5 separate regions of the Homo sapiens genome follow, and all the other regions are linked to region 5. Evidence: promoter capture Hi-C in 16 types of primary human blood cells and fetal thymus (Javierre and others, 2016). All regions are on one chromosome and are shown on one strand. Each heading gives the region's core, a stretch centred on a gene start or on the middle of the fragment in contact. The rest is flanking DNA. Distances are from core to core; before and after follow the strand shown.

The links. Contacts are between HindIII fragments. The CHiCAGO score rates a contact against its expected background, and 5 or more counts as called.
Region 1: a contact is called between a fragment that was not itself captured here and the fragment with the promoter of ACVR2A in region 5, in 1 of 17 cell types (endothelial precursors). The highest score is 6.0, in endothelial precursors.
Region 2: a contact is called between a fragment that was not itself captured here and the fragment with the promoter of ACVR2A in region 5, in 1 of 17 cell types (endothelial precursors). The highest score is 9.2, in endothelial precursors.
Region 3: the fragment with the promoter of KIF5C here is called in contact with the fragment with the promoter of ACVR2A in region 5 in 3 of 17 cell types (total B cells, naive B cells and activated CD4 T cells); the score reaches 10.4 in total B cells.
Region 4: a contact is called between a fragment that was not itself captured here and the fragment with the promoter of ACVR2A in region 5, in 1 of 17 cell types (endothelial precursors). The highest score is 6.9, in endothelial precursors.

The regions. Positions count from the first base shown.
Region 1 is chr2:146,817,604-146,820,303 of GRCh38, forward strand. No RefSeq gene overlaps it. Among named protein-coding and RNA genes, the nearest start is that of LINC01911, 19 kb to the right of the region's middle. The HindIII fragment of the contact is 2,230 bases long and covers 288-2,517 here.
Region 2 is chr2:146,732,087-146,734,786 of GRCh38, forward strand. No RefSeq gene overlaps it. Among named protein-coding and RNA genes, the nearest start is that of LINC01911, 100 kb to the right of the region's middle. The HindIII fragment of the contact is 1,128 bases long and covers 760-1,887 here.
Region 3 is chr2:148,873,825-148,876,524 of GRCh38, forward strand. It overlaps KIF5C (kinesin family member 5C), which reads left to right and starts at 1,403. Exons shown (of 26, transcript NM_004522.3): 1 at 1,403-1,919. The coding sequence starts at 1,794. It overlaps KIF5C-AS1 (KIF5C antisense RNA 1), which reads right to left. Exons shown (of 4, transcript XR_001739733.2): 4 at 1-2,371. RefSeq lists a silencer at 1,227-1,696 and enhancers at 2,069-2,647, 2,648-2,700. The HindIII fragment of the contact is 10,493 bases long and covers 1-2,700 here.
Region 4 is chr2:146,796,782-146,799,481 of GRCh38, forward strand. No RefSeq gene overlaps it. Among named protein-coding and RNA genes, the nearest start is that of LINC01911, 40 kb to the right of the region's middle. The HindIII fragment of the contact is 2,808 bases long and covers 3-2,700 here.
Region 5 is chr2:147,843,733-147,846,432 of GRCh38, forward strand. ACVR2A (activin A receptor type 2A) reads left to right here and starts at 1,297. Exons shown (of 11, transcript NM_001616.5): 1 at 1,297-1,475. The coding sequence starts at 1,421. RefSeq lists an enhancer at 1-397 and silencers at 524-713, 794-903, 1,659-1,738. The HindIII fragment of the contact is 3,923 bases long and covers 1-2,521 here.

The DNA.
Region 1 (2,700 bases), core at 153-2,652, 1.0 Mb before region 5:
TAAATTTTGCCATTCCCTGCTGAAAATATAAATGAGTGTACACAAATATGCTTAATTCAGGCAAAGAGGCTATCAGTTTCTATATGGCATATTTTCCTTGTTCAACCAAGGATGACAAACTGACACAGAATAAATAGGATCAGTGTTAGTAAGCTGTTAAGCACTGCTGTTTCTCTCCTCTGTCTCTTGCTCTCTCTCATACAGCCTCCTCTAGGCATCATACTGTTTCAAGAACAAAGAAATGCCAAATACCAATTAACAAGCTAAACCTGATTCACACGTAAACAAGCTTGGGCTTGTATTTTTATGAAAAGTACTGACAAAATTAGTTTTGAAAATATTTAACTCCTATTGATTTAATTTTTAGATGTCTCATTACTAAGGCCTTCTTGTCCCTCCTATAAATCTGGTATCTGGACTCACTTTTCTCAGAAGAGGTATGGTTTTCTTCTTTGAGAGAAAAACAAAAGCATAAGTGGCTTTAGTTAAGCATCACTATCCAGCCCATTATTTTATCATAGCTGTGGTAATTAATACAGACTAATCTGCTTCTCTTCATGGTTCACACTTAACCATTTTTGTATTTTATTTGTTCATCAAATATATTTCCACAAAATACAGTTTGATTTGGATTTATTTGCCACCAATTTGAGAAATCAGTGTCATTCTTCACTGCTGTGAAATAGTATGTGAATAACTCATTTTCAGCTTTAAAATGCATCAGTGAGTCATGGAGGCTCATAAGAACCCTTTGACATAGTTTCCTGGAGAATTCTGAAAAATTTCATGTCTATTCTGAAGTGGCAACCTAAATCACTATTTCTTTTCGAGAAGTGCTTCCCAAACTTTAGTGTACATAAGAATCATCTGAGAGCTTGTTGAAATGCAGATTCCTGGGCCCTGCTTCTTGAGGTTCTGGTTCAGGAAATGTCGTGTGGTGCCTGAGATTTTTACATTTCCCAGATCAAGCTGAGGGATCTACTACCCTGGTACAGCTTCTGCCTCAGTCTCCTGGAAACACTGTTCACATGTCCTTTTTTTTTGTTTTTGTTTCTGTTTATTTTTTTGAGACAGAGTCTCCCTCTGTCACCCAGGCTGGAGTGCAGTGGTGTGATCTCAGCTCACTGCAAGCTCCACCTCCTGGGTTCACACCATTCTCCTGCCTCAGCCTCCCAAGTAGCTGGGACTACAGGTGCCTGCCACCATGCCTGACTAATTTTTTGTATTTTTAATAGAGACGGGGTTTCACCGTGTTAGCCAGGATGGTCTCGATCTCCTGACCTCGTGATCCGCCTGGGCCTCCCAAAGTGCTGGGATTACAGGCGTGAGCCACTGTGCCCAGACAACCACATGTCCTTTTAAACATACACAATACATGGATACGAAGTTCCAACCTTGCACATAGTAAAAAGGGATATTTTGCCATTTCACTGTCATCATTAACTATGTTACATAAAATAGATGTTCAGGAAATGATAGCGCGGTAGTTTCTATCACATGCATCACATGTTGATCCCTTCCCTCTGTAATTATGCCCAACTGAAAAGTTGTGCATTTGTACAAGAGAAAGCAATGACTTGTGCAGGAAACAAACTACTATAGAGCTTCATCGGTATTAAAATGTACATGTGTTTGTGAATTCTCATTATTAACTATAACTGTCCACAAAGCTCCAGTGACTCAGCTCTTCATCTCTAACATTTTGCAGACTGAATTGTTAGGTCTGTGGACAGACCTTTGGAGGATATAAGACAGCACGAATAAATAGTTAATATAGTATAAAATATAAATTATCTGTAGGCCAATTAAGGTCATGAACATTTTAGGGAGAAGGGCTTTAGGAGCCATGGCTTTAAGAACACCTCATATATCCTACGAAATGGTGATAGACAGCAATCAATTCGCTTGTAATCTAGCAAGGTATTAAGAAGTTTGAGCTTTCTGAAAGAGCTGAATGATAAGAGAGGTTTGACTAATGTTGGGAAAAGAAGCATGTCTTTTGCTTTGGAAAAAGAACCAAATTATTATGATCATTCTCCATTTATCAGTAAAATATTTTTTAGCACACACATGCTAATATATGCATATTTACTTATTTCTAAGTATTTATGCTCATCATTATAATCTATACATACTTTATACATAAATATTTCAAACGACACACTACAATATACATTTGGAAAATTGAGATAAAGATTAAATTTAAAAATTTGTCTTACCAATATCTGCATATTATCATTAATTCAAAGCAAAAAGCATAATTTACAGTTAAAGAAAGGGTTATCATTAACAATATTAAATGTGAATCCATTATTTAAGTGGACTTACTGATAATTTTAACTTTTTGGAAGAAAATGTGTCAATATAAATAGATAACATTTTCTTTAGTCTCCTAATGTGGCTTAATGCCCATAGTAGAAGTAGGGTAAATATTAGCTGTGCATTTTTTTGTTCTCTGCCTGTTCTTGTATTATTATATTACATTCAAGTGGTGGTTTCTTTGCTGGAATCTTTTTAAGCTTTCCATCTAAACCCTAGTTGGATATTTTCTCTTTTTCCTTCAACTTTCTTAGCACTCTTGATATGTGTATCATTTCTTTAGTCAATGATCAGTTACAATCTATAGATTCTTGGTTATCTATTTTTTTTTTTTTTTTTTTGAGACAGAGTCTCGCTCTGTCGCCCAGGTTAGAGTGCAGT
Region 2 (2,700 bases), core at 74-2,573, 1.1 Mb before region 5:
AAATTAAATTATAAGTTAATTTTAGAATTCTGTGAATGCTAATTTTAGGCCATCAGGAAAATGCAAGCTGAATGGAAAGATAATAAATAAATAAAATAAACTCACATATTAAACTGATTAATTCAATAATTTTATTTATTTATTTATTTTTGCTTTTGGCTGAGTTATGTCAAGTAAAAATTTTAGAAGAATGTCCGGACTGTATAACTCCTGAGCCTCATATATTTGAAAATGTCATTGCCTTGCCTTAGGTCAACTACATGCTGTGTAGCTAAAGAATTCTCAGTTTATACCATCAACTGTAGATTTTCTTGTTCTTAGTCATTATCAATGTTTTTTTCTCATACATGGTGATATCAATCATTTGTATTGTTGGATTCAAATCCTCAATAAACTTTTATCTTATTCAAATTCTTCATGAATCTTCTGTATGACTATCTTCATTATTATAGTTTTCTTAGGCTTTCTTATTTTCTTGATTTGTTATTTATAGCACTGATTATGATGATAATCATGATATAATGATAATCAATATTATAATTCATGTGATAAATACTATTAAGCTATTTATTACTATTAAAACACTGAAAGCACCTCCAAATTTTTAAAAACATGGCCAAAGAAATGTTGATCCTTACATGAGCATATATATATATACTATTAATAGGGTGTATATATTATTATGAGTTTCATTTGTATTATACATTTACATGAGTACATATATACATGAGTATATATATACTCTTTAGAGTATATATAAGCTTTTTAGAAATTTGATCCAACGGGTCGGTGGTACAAGATACCAGCAACTGTTATATATATTCATATACTAGAGTTTTGAACATTTGATTAACAGAAAAATTTTCCTGGTACAATGTCAAAAGATATAAATATATATATACAATATGATTACAAGTATAAACGTGTATATATATTCATATATATTTTCTCTATATACATTGTAATTATTTGTAAAGATATTCTTCGCATGAATGAAAATACTGAATTCAAACACACCAAACACACACACTTGTCCATTATCCCAAGGACGTGTGGGAAGGAGAGGTTCTAACAGGTGACATACTTTTCTCTCTTTAATTGTTACTATATTATTTATAATGAGCACATGCCTCTTGCTTATATTGAAATGGTATTAATAAAAAGCAAATCTATATTATAACTATTAAAAAAAACCTTTAACTATGGGGTAAGTGACATTTGTCAAAGAAAGAAAATATCCAATAGAAAAAAACAAACGCAAATGCTTTTAAAACCACAGCAAAGTAACACTTTTCCAAGAAGGATACAATTTTTGAGAAGTCACTGTGTAATCAGATTAACTTCTGTATACACTGGGAGAAGGGAGGTATATGTTAAGTGAACTCCCCTCCTTATATAACAGTCATGGCCAATTATGACACTGAAATAGCATTTTATTTTAAATGATTTATCAATTTCACTGTAAGCATTCACAATTATTCCCTTACATTATTGTACATTTTAATCAAGAGTGCATATTTAACTCCAACATTCTTTTGTCTAGTAGGGTTACTGTTATTCTTTCAGCTGGAGTTATTGCTTCTGTTTTTTAGAAGGTCTGGTATTCCCCAAACAGCAGTAAAGTGAGCAGGATATCTGCCTTCTACAGAAATGTTTTTCATTCATAGGACTTCATGCTCAAGTTCAGGGCAGTTTCATTTATGGGAAAAATTATTTTTATTGTTGTTCTGAATCACTTAGTGTTTATTCAAAATTTCCCTAAATCTCAGAATATTCTTGATATTTATGACTTTGGAGCATAATGAAATTATTCCCACGGTCCAGGAAAACCACTAGACTAATAATAGAATGCTGTGTTTGTGTGCTGATGAGCTCTGTGTCCCCAGAAGCTTAATTTGGTGTAGTCATTTATTATAACTTAACAGAAACATTGATATAGGTTTCTTGACTCAATAAAGGAAGCCACAGTTATTGGAATATGAAAATATACAGTGGGAATGTATTAATTTTTGCACATGAATGTCTTCTTTAGGTTTAATAAAGTTGCTCTAAAAGCTCTTTAGAAATATGATGCAACGGGTTGGTGGTACAAGTTACCAGCAACTATTAGCTTGTGGTTGCTCAACACATACAATATAACAGCAGAATATTTGTAGCATCATATTACCACATGAGGGTGCTATCTCCCCAAAAATGTTATCTGTAAAGTGAGCCGACCACCGCTAGGAAAGATTGTTTTGCTATTTTTTTCCGTATACATTTTGGAAGACAAGAAATGATTTGTTAGAATAAACACATTCTGTAGGAAAAAAATAAATAAAATAAAAGTCTCAGCCTTAACACCAAAGGACTAATACTCTTTCTATAACTATATAGTATGAATCAGGCATACAAAAGATACCTTTGATTTAAAAATATGGATCTACATGAAGGTTTATAAGTGTTAGGCAAAGCGTGATCCATGGACGACCTATACTGTAGTAGTAGAGAGACATTAGAGGTTCACGCTCATTAAATAAGCATACCTCTGTGCCTTACTCTGACCTACAAAATCAGAATATCTACAGGTCAGCCCCAGTAATCTTCATTTTTATGTTGCTCCTCAGGTAATTCTCATGCGTTTTAACATTTAAGAAGCACTGGTATGAAGTCATTTTAAAATTGTTATTCTTGTAAACATTGACCCACTTGAATGTTTAA
Region 3 (2,700 bases), core at 153-2,652, 1.0 Mb after region 5:
CTGACCTCCTCAGATAAACCAGTGTATGCAAGGTTCTGGGCATCTTCTGGTGGGCTCAGGGAAACTGAGAATTGGATTGTCCTCTCTAGTATATTATGAAGTTGATCATTTAAGATGATGGGTCTCTGAGCCAGAGCCTGAGAATTACTTAATTTAAAAACAGATGAGAAGGTGGCACCTGGGTCTTTTTAATCTACTTCCACTGCACATGAGGAGATGAAATAGAACTGGTACTACTTACAAGGGTTTATAAAAGTTGATTTTAGTAGGTCTGTCCTCTCAGCTAGGCAGAGAACACTTGTATTTTCAGGTATTACCCGAATTTAAGCAACAGATGTGTTCCTAAAATTAACTAACTTATTTGTTTTATGATCATTTGTTCAGCACCCAATAACATCTAACTTTCAAGAGCTTATCCTATATACATGTCAGGCACCGTGCTAGGTGCTTTAAAAGCATCTGTCTTTTAATTCCCCCAGAAATCACAAGATGATATTATTCCAATGACAGAGATGAGGAAACTGAGTCTTAAGGAAATTAAGACTTCTTAATTTCCTCCGCTCTTAATTTCCTCCGCCTGTTGGTCATACATCTAATAAGTGGCTGAGGTGGGATTCACACTCATGCATTGCTTCTTCCTAGGGTAGAATCCTTATTCAGTATGCTGCCCACTATGTGCTAGATGCTACAGACACAAAGATATCAAGCAGATATCACCACCCAAGTGCAGTGCTAGAGACAGGCACAGCAGATTAGGGGAACATCAAGGAGGGCCACCAACTCTTTATAGGTGTTTAGTGAGCTGGGAAAGTCTGAGGAAGGAGGGTTGAGCTAGGTCTTAGAGGAAAAGGAAGTTCTGGAAAAATAGAGTGGACACTCAGTTGTTCTGCCAGCCCGGCACCATGTCTGGGAATACCATCCCTCTTCTTTTGGGAACCTTCCCACCAAGGGATTCCTCCATAATCTTACAAAATCCCTGATTCTGGTTGATTGGTTTAGCACTAGATGCCAACCTAAACCAAGGCCAATCAAACCCAAACTCTGAACAGACATCCATCCTTATCTAGTGGTAGAAGTTGAAGGATGAAACCCAGGGGCTATTGGGAGCTGTTTCCCAAGTGATTTTCTTTTGGGATCAGGATGATCCAGACCCAGTTATCTAGAGATTTTAACCGGAAATATTGGATATGACCTCCATCCGGTTCCGGCTTGGGCAGCCAGACCGGACTTGCAGGCTCTTGGAGGTCGCATCCTGTCCTTCCCCCGGCAGGTAGAGTGACTACAAGTCCCGGGATGCGCAGCGCTCGGAGTCGGGCGGGGGCCGGGCGGACCTCTACGGTGACGTCACCGTCCCGGGGCGGGCCAGGGGAGGGCGGGGCGGAGGGGCGGGTCTCAAGGCGGCAGAGCGCGCTGGTGCTGATGCAGGATGGCTGAGCGCGCAGGAGCCCGGGAGGTCTGAGCCGGGCGAGGCTCGCTCCCTGCGCATCGCCTCCTCCGCCCGCCGCGTGGTCGCGGGCAGGTGGGCCGGGGGGCGCTGGGCAGGGGCGGGGCAGGGCCAGGGCAGGCCGGTCTGCAGCCGGAGGGGCCGGAGCGGAGAAGCTGCCCACCTTCCCGGGCTCGGAGCGGCCGGGGCTGCTCAGCCGGCCGGGCTCGCGATGACCTGCTGAGAAGCGTCGTCGGAGGCTGCAGGAGGCGGCCTAGCTGTGGGCGGTGCAGCTCGCGGCCTCCTCCCTCGTCGTTCCCGGCCCCGGCCCCCCACCCATCCCCGTGCCCCCTCCCTACCGCCGGCCGAGATGGCGGATCCAGCCGAATGCAGCATCAAAGTGATGTGCCGGTTCCGGCCCCTCAACGAAGCGGAGATCCTCCGCGGGGACAAATTCATCCCCAAATTTAAAGGCGATGAGACCGTGGTGATCGGGGTAAGTGGCTGGGGCGTCTGCCTTCCCTGCTGCTCCGCGCCGCAGCTGGGCGCCCCGACGCCCCAGACGCAGCGGAGGTGTTTAGGCCGCCCCCTCGGACATTCCCGCGGGGCTGGCCTCTCGGGTGGACCTGACCAGAGACCCCTCGCCCCGCGCACTATGGTTCCCTCCCGGGCGGGTGGAGAGGCGGCCGGGAGCGGCGGGCCGGGCGGGGGTGGCGGGGGTGGGGATGGGGGGCGAAGACGGGCTCGGCGCCGCCATTGTTCGCCGGGTGGGGGCCCGGGTGGGCCCATTGTTCCCCACGCTCGCCTCGCCGCGTGGGTAGTGTGTTCGGGTGACCCTCAAGCCGGGTGCCCAGGCCCCCTTTAAAGTGTGAGCTCTGCAACCCGCAAATGCTTCTGGGCATCAATCAATTCGATTTACCAAACGCCTTGCCTCTTCTTCTCACGACCCTAGCAAAAAAGAAAGAAAAAGGGGTACAGGAAAATTTCTAGTCGCGTCTCGGAGCTCCCGCGGCAGTGTAGACGCGGCTCCCCGCGGTGTTACACCTGGCTCCGCGCGCGGAAGGCGGAGGGTTGGGGGAGTACTGGTGGCCTCGGTGTCCCCTGGAGGCCTGGTGTGTCTCCCGCTTCCTCTCACGCCTGGCTGCCCTGGATGTGGAGTCCCGGCTTGATCCCTCCCCTCTGGGATGACCTCCCTCCCATGTCTGCAGACCCTCTGATGCGCCTCACGCTGGGTGGAGAGGAGGCTGTGTCCACATCTGTGGGGCGAGGGGGCTCAG
Region 4 (2,700 bases), core at 157-2,656, 1.0 Mb before region 5:
AAAGCTTATCTGAAATTCCATCATCCAAATATGTATTTTGATGGCTTACAAAGAAAGTAATCTCCAAAATTTACTACTCTAATTGAAATGTTTATGCATACACCAGGGAAACATTTAAGTCACACAGGAGACCAAGGGAGAAAATGTTTAGTAGCAGATAGTCATATCTCAGGTATTCTGATAGGATCACATCTTGTGCTTGTCTTGTTTAAATACACTATATATTAGGATGTGTTATCATCTTTACTCCATATTATGATAAGTATGCCTTTTCTCTTGCTGCCAAATGCCACTGAGGCAATTCTTCTACTAGGAAGTTCCAATGTTAATTGCATTATTACTTATTTTTTATTGCTAAGAGTTATTTGCATTCATTATGTAGCTCTAACATATTCATGTTTTACATCACACTTTATTCATTTCCATGAATTTCCAGAAGAAAAAGAATTCACATCTATTATTGTTCAGTATTGCTGCATACTGCAAAGCCCAAATATGAGTTCATTCAATATCATATAATTAGGTAATTGGTGTTTTTCATGCTTTATATTCTGCAGAAATCCTTGGTAGATGTTATAAATGTGTCTAAGTATATCTTAGTGATATTTGGAGAATTGCTTAAGATTATGAGGTGGACTAGGAATAAATTACTTTCACATTTTCACATTTAAAAAATGTAAGATTCAATGCTTTTTCAGGAGCAGATTATATTCACATCTAATATTGGCCTTTATGATTAGCATTAGTCAAAAGACCTACCTAAATGTAATCAGTAAATTGTTATCTTAACAATACTGGTTTATTTGAGGACTTCTAATTGCTATTTATGTAAGACTGATAAACTCAGATGTTTAAAACTAATGTTTGGGTTCAAATCTTGCCTCTATCACTTACTAGCTGTTTGAATTGGGCAACTCAAATAATGTTTGTTTCTGATTTCCCTCATTGATAAATTAAGGATACTAGTATTACTTCATAGGCTTGTTATGACAATTAAATTAGTTAATATTTGAAAAGTGTTTAAATAGTGTCTGGCAAATAGTAATTGTGAAATGATAGCTATGAAGGAAACAAACCAGGAAAGTGAGACCATTTTAATAATATGAAAAACATTTTTTTAAATAAAGTGTTGCTTAAATTATTCAAAAGAGATTTACCGTTTCCTTTTCTAAGTGGAAGATAGGAGATACATAATGTAAGTTCAATAGACAAGGAAGGACCTGAGTTTATAAAAAACTTGGCTTGAGAACCTTATGGGGAAGCTACAAAATGCAGATATCCAAAATAATACAAGGAGGAATAAAAATATGTTGGCAGCGAGCTAATAGTTTGGTTACCAAGGTAACAGAGGTAAATTTAATTGAGCAGAAAATAATCATGCTACAAGTAGCCTAAAAGGATGCCATGCACTTCTCCTTTGAGTTTAGTTTGAGTAGAGTTTGTTTTAGAGGTTGAATGGTATAACACAAAAATGTTCCATTGCATCAACTCAGTACAGGTGAAGAACACTCTAAAATGAAATAGCTAGTTATTAAAAATATAAATTGTGACATTTTAGCTAAGTACAAAGCAAACCTTGACACTGGTGTTAGCAGAGTCAGGAAGAGCAGCACTGGTCAGCACTTCTTGCATAGAAACTAAACAGCATCTGAAGCCATGTATTCATTCAGCTGAAATGATGAGCATTCCTGGATGAGTTTAGGTTTGCCTTGATTCTTGTTTCAAATACAACTACTATACTTAATGTATTTTAAGAATAGATCATGTGAACCATGTGATTACAATATTTTCATTAAAATAACCTCAAAATAACTATATTGAGTATGTATGTTTTCAAATGCCTGCAGATTGCCTGGAAATCCTTGGTCGGCAATACTTAGCTACTAAATAAAATATGTTCACCGTCTAGTGCCGAAACCCTTTAACAGCCCACAAAACAAGCTGGATGTCTAGAGATGCACATTTCAGACCATGTGTCCAATATACTGCACAGCCTAACAATAGGACTTTTGTGACGAAGTAATATATTCTATTTATTTTGGCTACCTATGATAGACACTTTTATAATAGCCTTTTAATGCGATAGCTACCTCTAACAAAGAAGCTAAATATTTTGTAAACATATATGCCACAGGATTTGCTAATCTATGATGAAATATAGATTAGCAAATCAATCATATCATGAGCAGCTAAGACTTACAAGTAATAACTTGGATAATAACTTCTAATTCTCTTGCATCAAGTAGGATTACTTTAGAAGAATATGGTACAAATAATTTCAAGTAATAAGAAAATGTATTGTCTTTGAATCATGAGGAAACAATTCCCAGAAGACTTCTCTCATCTCATTGGCCACAACTGGTCACAGAGCTACCCCTAAAATAGTGATTCTCAAATCATGGTCCCTACCAGCATTGTCACCTTCACTAGGAACTTGTTAGGAATGCAAAATCTCCAACCTCATAAGACACCTCCTGAATCAGAAGGTCACGGTGGGGTCCAACAATCTGTATTTTAACAAGCTCTCCAAGTAATTTTGACATACATTGAAGTTTACAAACCACTAACTACCCTAATCCAATCACTAACAAAGGAAAGATTACTATGATGATTTAAACTATCAGAATATACAGCCAGAGTTGAGGATAAGGGCCTTTCCTGAGGAATTGAAAAAAATCAGTATTCAGTTGGCAAAGAAGA
Region 5 (2,700 bases), core at 47-2,546:
GCGCATCGTGATAAATGGCGTGAATATCCTGAGCGGGTGGACAGCCCTTCCTCCGTGAGTTTTTTCTTTTTCTTTTCTAGTCACCAAGACAGCACGCGTGTGCAGAAGCTGCAGCGGTGGGACGCAGTGCTAAGTCTGGGGGCGCACACACCAGCTCGCGCGTCGCGAGCTCGCCTGGGCAGCTCGGCGGGCGCGGCGAAACAGCTCCCACGTCCGCCTTCCACCGACTCCTCGGTATCAGAGCGGACGAGGCGTCCCCCCAGAGGAAAGACTGGGCGCCGCAGACGCCCCTTGGAGAAGTCCCTGGCCACTCGCCCCACCTCGGGGTCCTCTTCCTCTTGGGCTTCTCCTGACCCTTTGGGTGGGCGCTCCAGACAGGCCCGTCGGACGCGATTTGGAAACGGGTCGTGCCCGGCCTAGCCCGCATCTACTCGCCCGGCCACAGCCCAGCCACAGCTTAGGGACTTTGAGGCGCCCGCGCCCCTTTGTCGCGGTATCTCTAGCCCAAGCAGGCCGGACGCCGAGGCCTCGCGGTATCGAGCCTCCGTCCGCCCCGCCTCCTCGCCCTCCACTCCGCCCCGCCCTCGCTCTCTCACCCCTCCCCCGCTCCCGCCTCGCTTCCCCGACAATCTCCTCGCGCTCCCGGCCCGGCACGCGCGCTGCGCCCGGCCGCCGCTGCCGCCGCCGCCGCCGCCGCCGCTGCCGCCGAGCGTTCCTCCGCTGCGCCTGGCTTCCAGCTTCGGGCCGGAACCGGAAGTTTGGGGGGCGGAGCCCGGCGGAGGCCAGGAGACCGAAAACGCGGCCGAGCCCGGAGCCCGGAGCTGGAGCCAGAGCCTGGACCAGAACTTGGCCGCCGCCTGCACCGCCGCCGCCGCTGCCGCCCGCCGCCCCTTCCCCGCGCCGCAGCCGCCTCGCCGCCACCGCCGCGAGCTCGGCCGCCAGTGGTCCTCGGACTTTAGGTGTCTGGGTTGAAGGTCGGTCCGGACATCGGACCCAGTCAGTTCCCAGACTGTCCGGGCGGCAGCGGACGCCGCTGCCGCCGCCGCCTCTTCGTCGCCTCAGCCTGGCGTTTTGTTCCGAGAGACGGGAGAGGCGAGCGGAGCTGACAGTGATTTTGACAGTGATTTAAACCCGCTTTTGTTGTTGTTGGCTTTTCGTTGTTTGGTTTTGTGTGTTGTGCGTGTGTGTGGCGGTTTTTCCCCCGTGGTGCATTTTATTTTTTATCGTTGTGCTCTTTTTTTTCTTTTTTTTTTTTAACCCAGTGAGCGTTTTTTTTTTTTTTTTTTTTTTTTTTTGGTCTGGGCTTCCGAATATGTTTTATGACGGTTGATTTTACACCAGGAGGTTTGTCTCCGAGGAAGACCCAGGGAACTGGATATCTAGCGAGAACTTCCTCCGGATTCCCCGGCGCCTCGGGAAAATGGGAGCTGCTGCAAAGTTGGCGTTTGCCGTCTTTCTTATCTCCTGTTCTTCAGGTAGGTGCAGGGAGCGCGGCGCGGTGGGGCTGCTCCTGCGGCCGCGGCGGCCGCTGCTGGGGGCCGCGGCTGGTGTTGAGTCGGAGAGTCCAGTGGAGCCTGGGGAGGTTGCCCACTCCCTGCGCCCCTCGGCTGCCACCGCCCCCCCCCCCCGCCCCCAGGTCTGATTGTGATCTGGAAACCTCCATGCATTTTTCTCTTTTTGAGTTGGGTCGGCGAGCTGATAAGAGTGAGTGCTGTGTTGTTGTGGAAGTGAGAAAGTCATGTTTTGTGGCCATAACACTGGATGACAGCGCTGGTTGGGTTGCAATTAAGCCGCAAATACCACAAGTGACAATTTATGCAAAGGTTGAGATCTGAAAGGAGTATTTAGTGTGGGCTCCTCCAAAACAAGGGTTGCTTTTTGTCATCGTTTAATTAGTGCTTCACCGGTGAATATCACGACATAGATCAAGCCAGTTGCTGCTTAATTTTGGCTGTGGGAAACAATACATCCTATCAGCAATTTAATCTGGGTCTCCCCTCACGTTTTCTTCAACTTCAGCGTCCAGCAGTGTTAAAAATAGTTGTAGTTGTTGTTGGAGTATTAACTATAACCCAGTGCAGAAGAGGTATGCCGCTTGGTATTGGTAATGTGCTGGCGTTCAACCACCATTTGTGTGCTCTTTTGGGGCATAGATTTTGCTTACCTACGGAATACTTATTTTAAACGCTTTGTATTGAAGCATTGTTTTCGGTTTAGAACAACCCATGTGAAATTGTTTTTGTTAAATATAGTACACTCATAAAATAGGTTTTAGCTCAAGGTTGGGGGAATAAACGGGCCATTTTATATTGGAAATTTTGATTTTGTGAGGACGTTCTATGGTTGCAACCAGTGGTTGGAAAAACTATCTAGTCTTTTGTATTTGAAATTCTATAAATAAATACAGCATCTAGCTGAAAGGTGTGCAGATGTACATAACAGGAGAGTTAGTTCAATAGATGAAACATTTTAAATAAGTCTCATTGGATCTATTTATTGTAAAATTTAATATTCAGTTACAAGCTTGTGGCATAGAATTACGGGGGACTCTTGGAAACGGGGGCGAATTGACAGGTTTCATGGCCATGTCTTTATCTCGTTTGCCACAGGAAAATTAAAGGGTGGTAGTCTTCTTTGTGTACCTCTGTGGGGTGTGTGTGTGTGTGTTTGTGTGTTTGTGTCCGTCTTCCCCACCCCCCT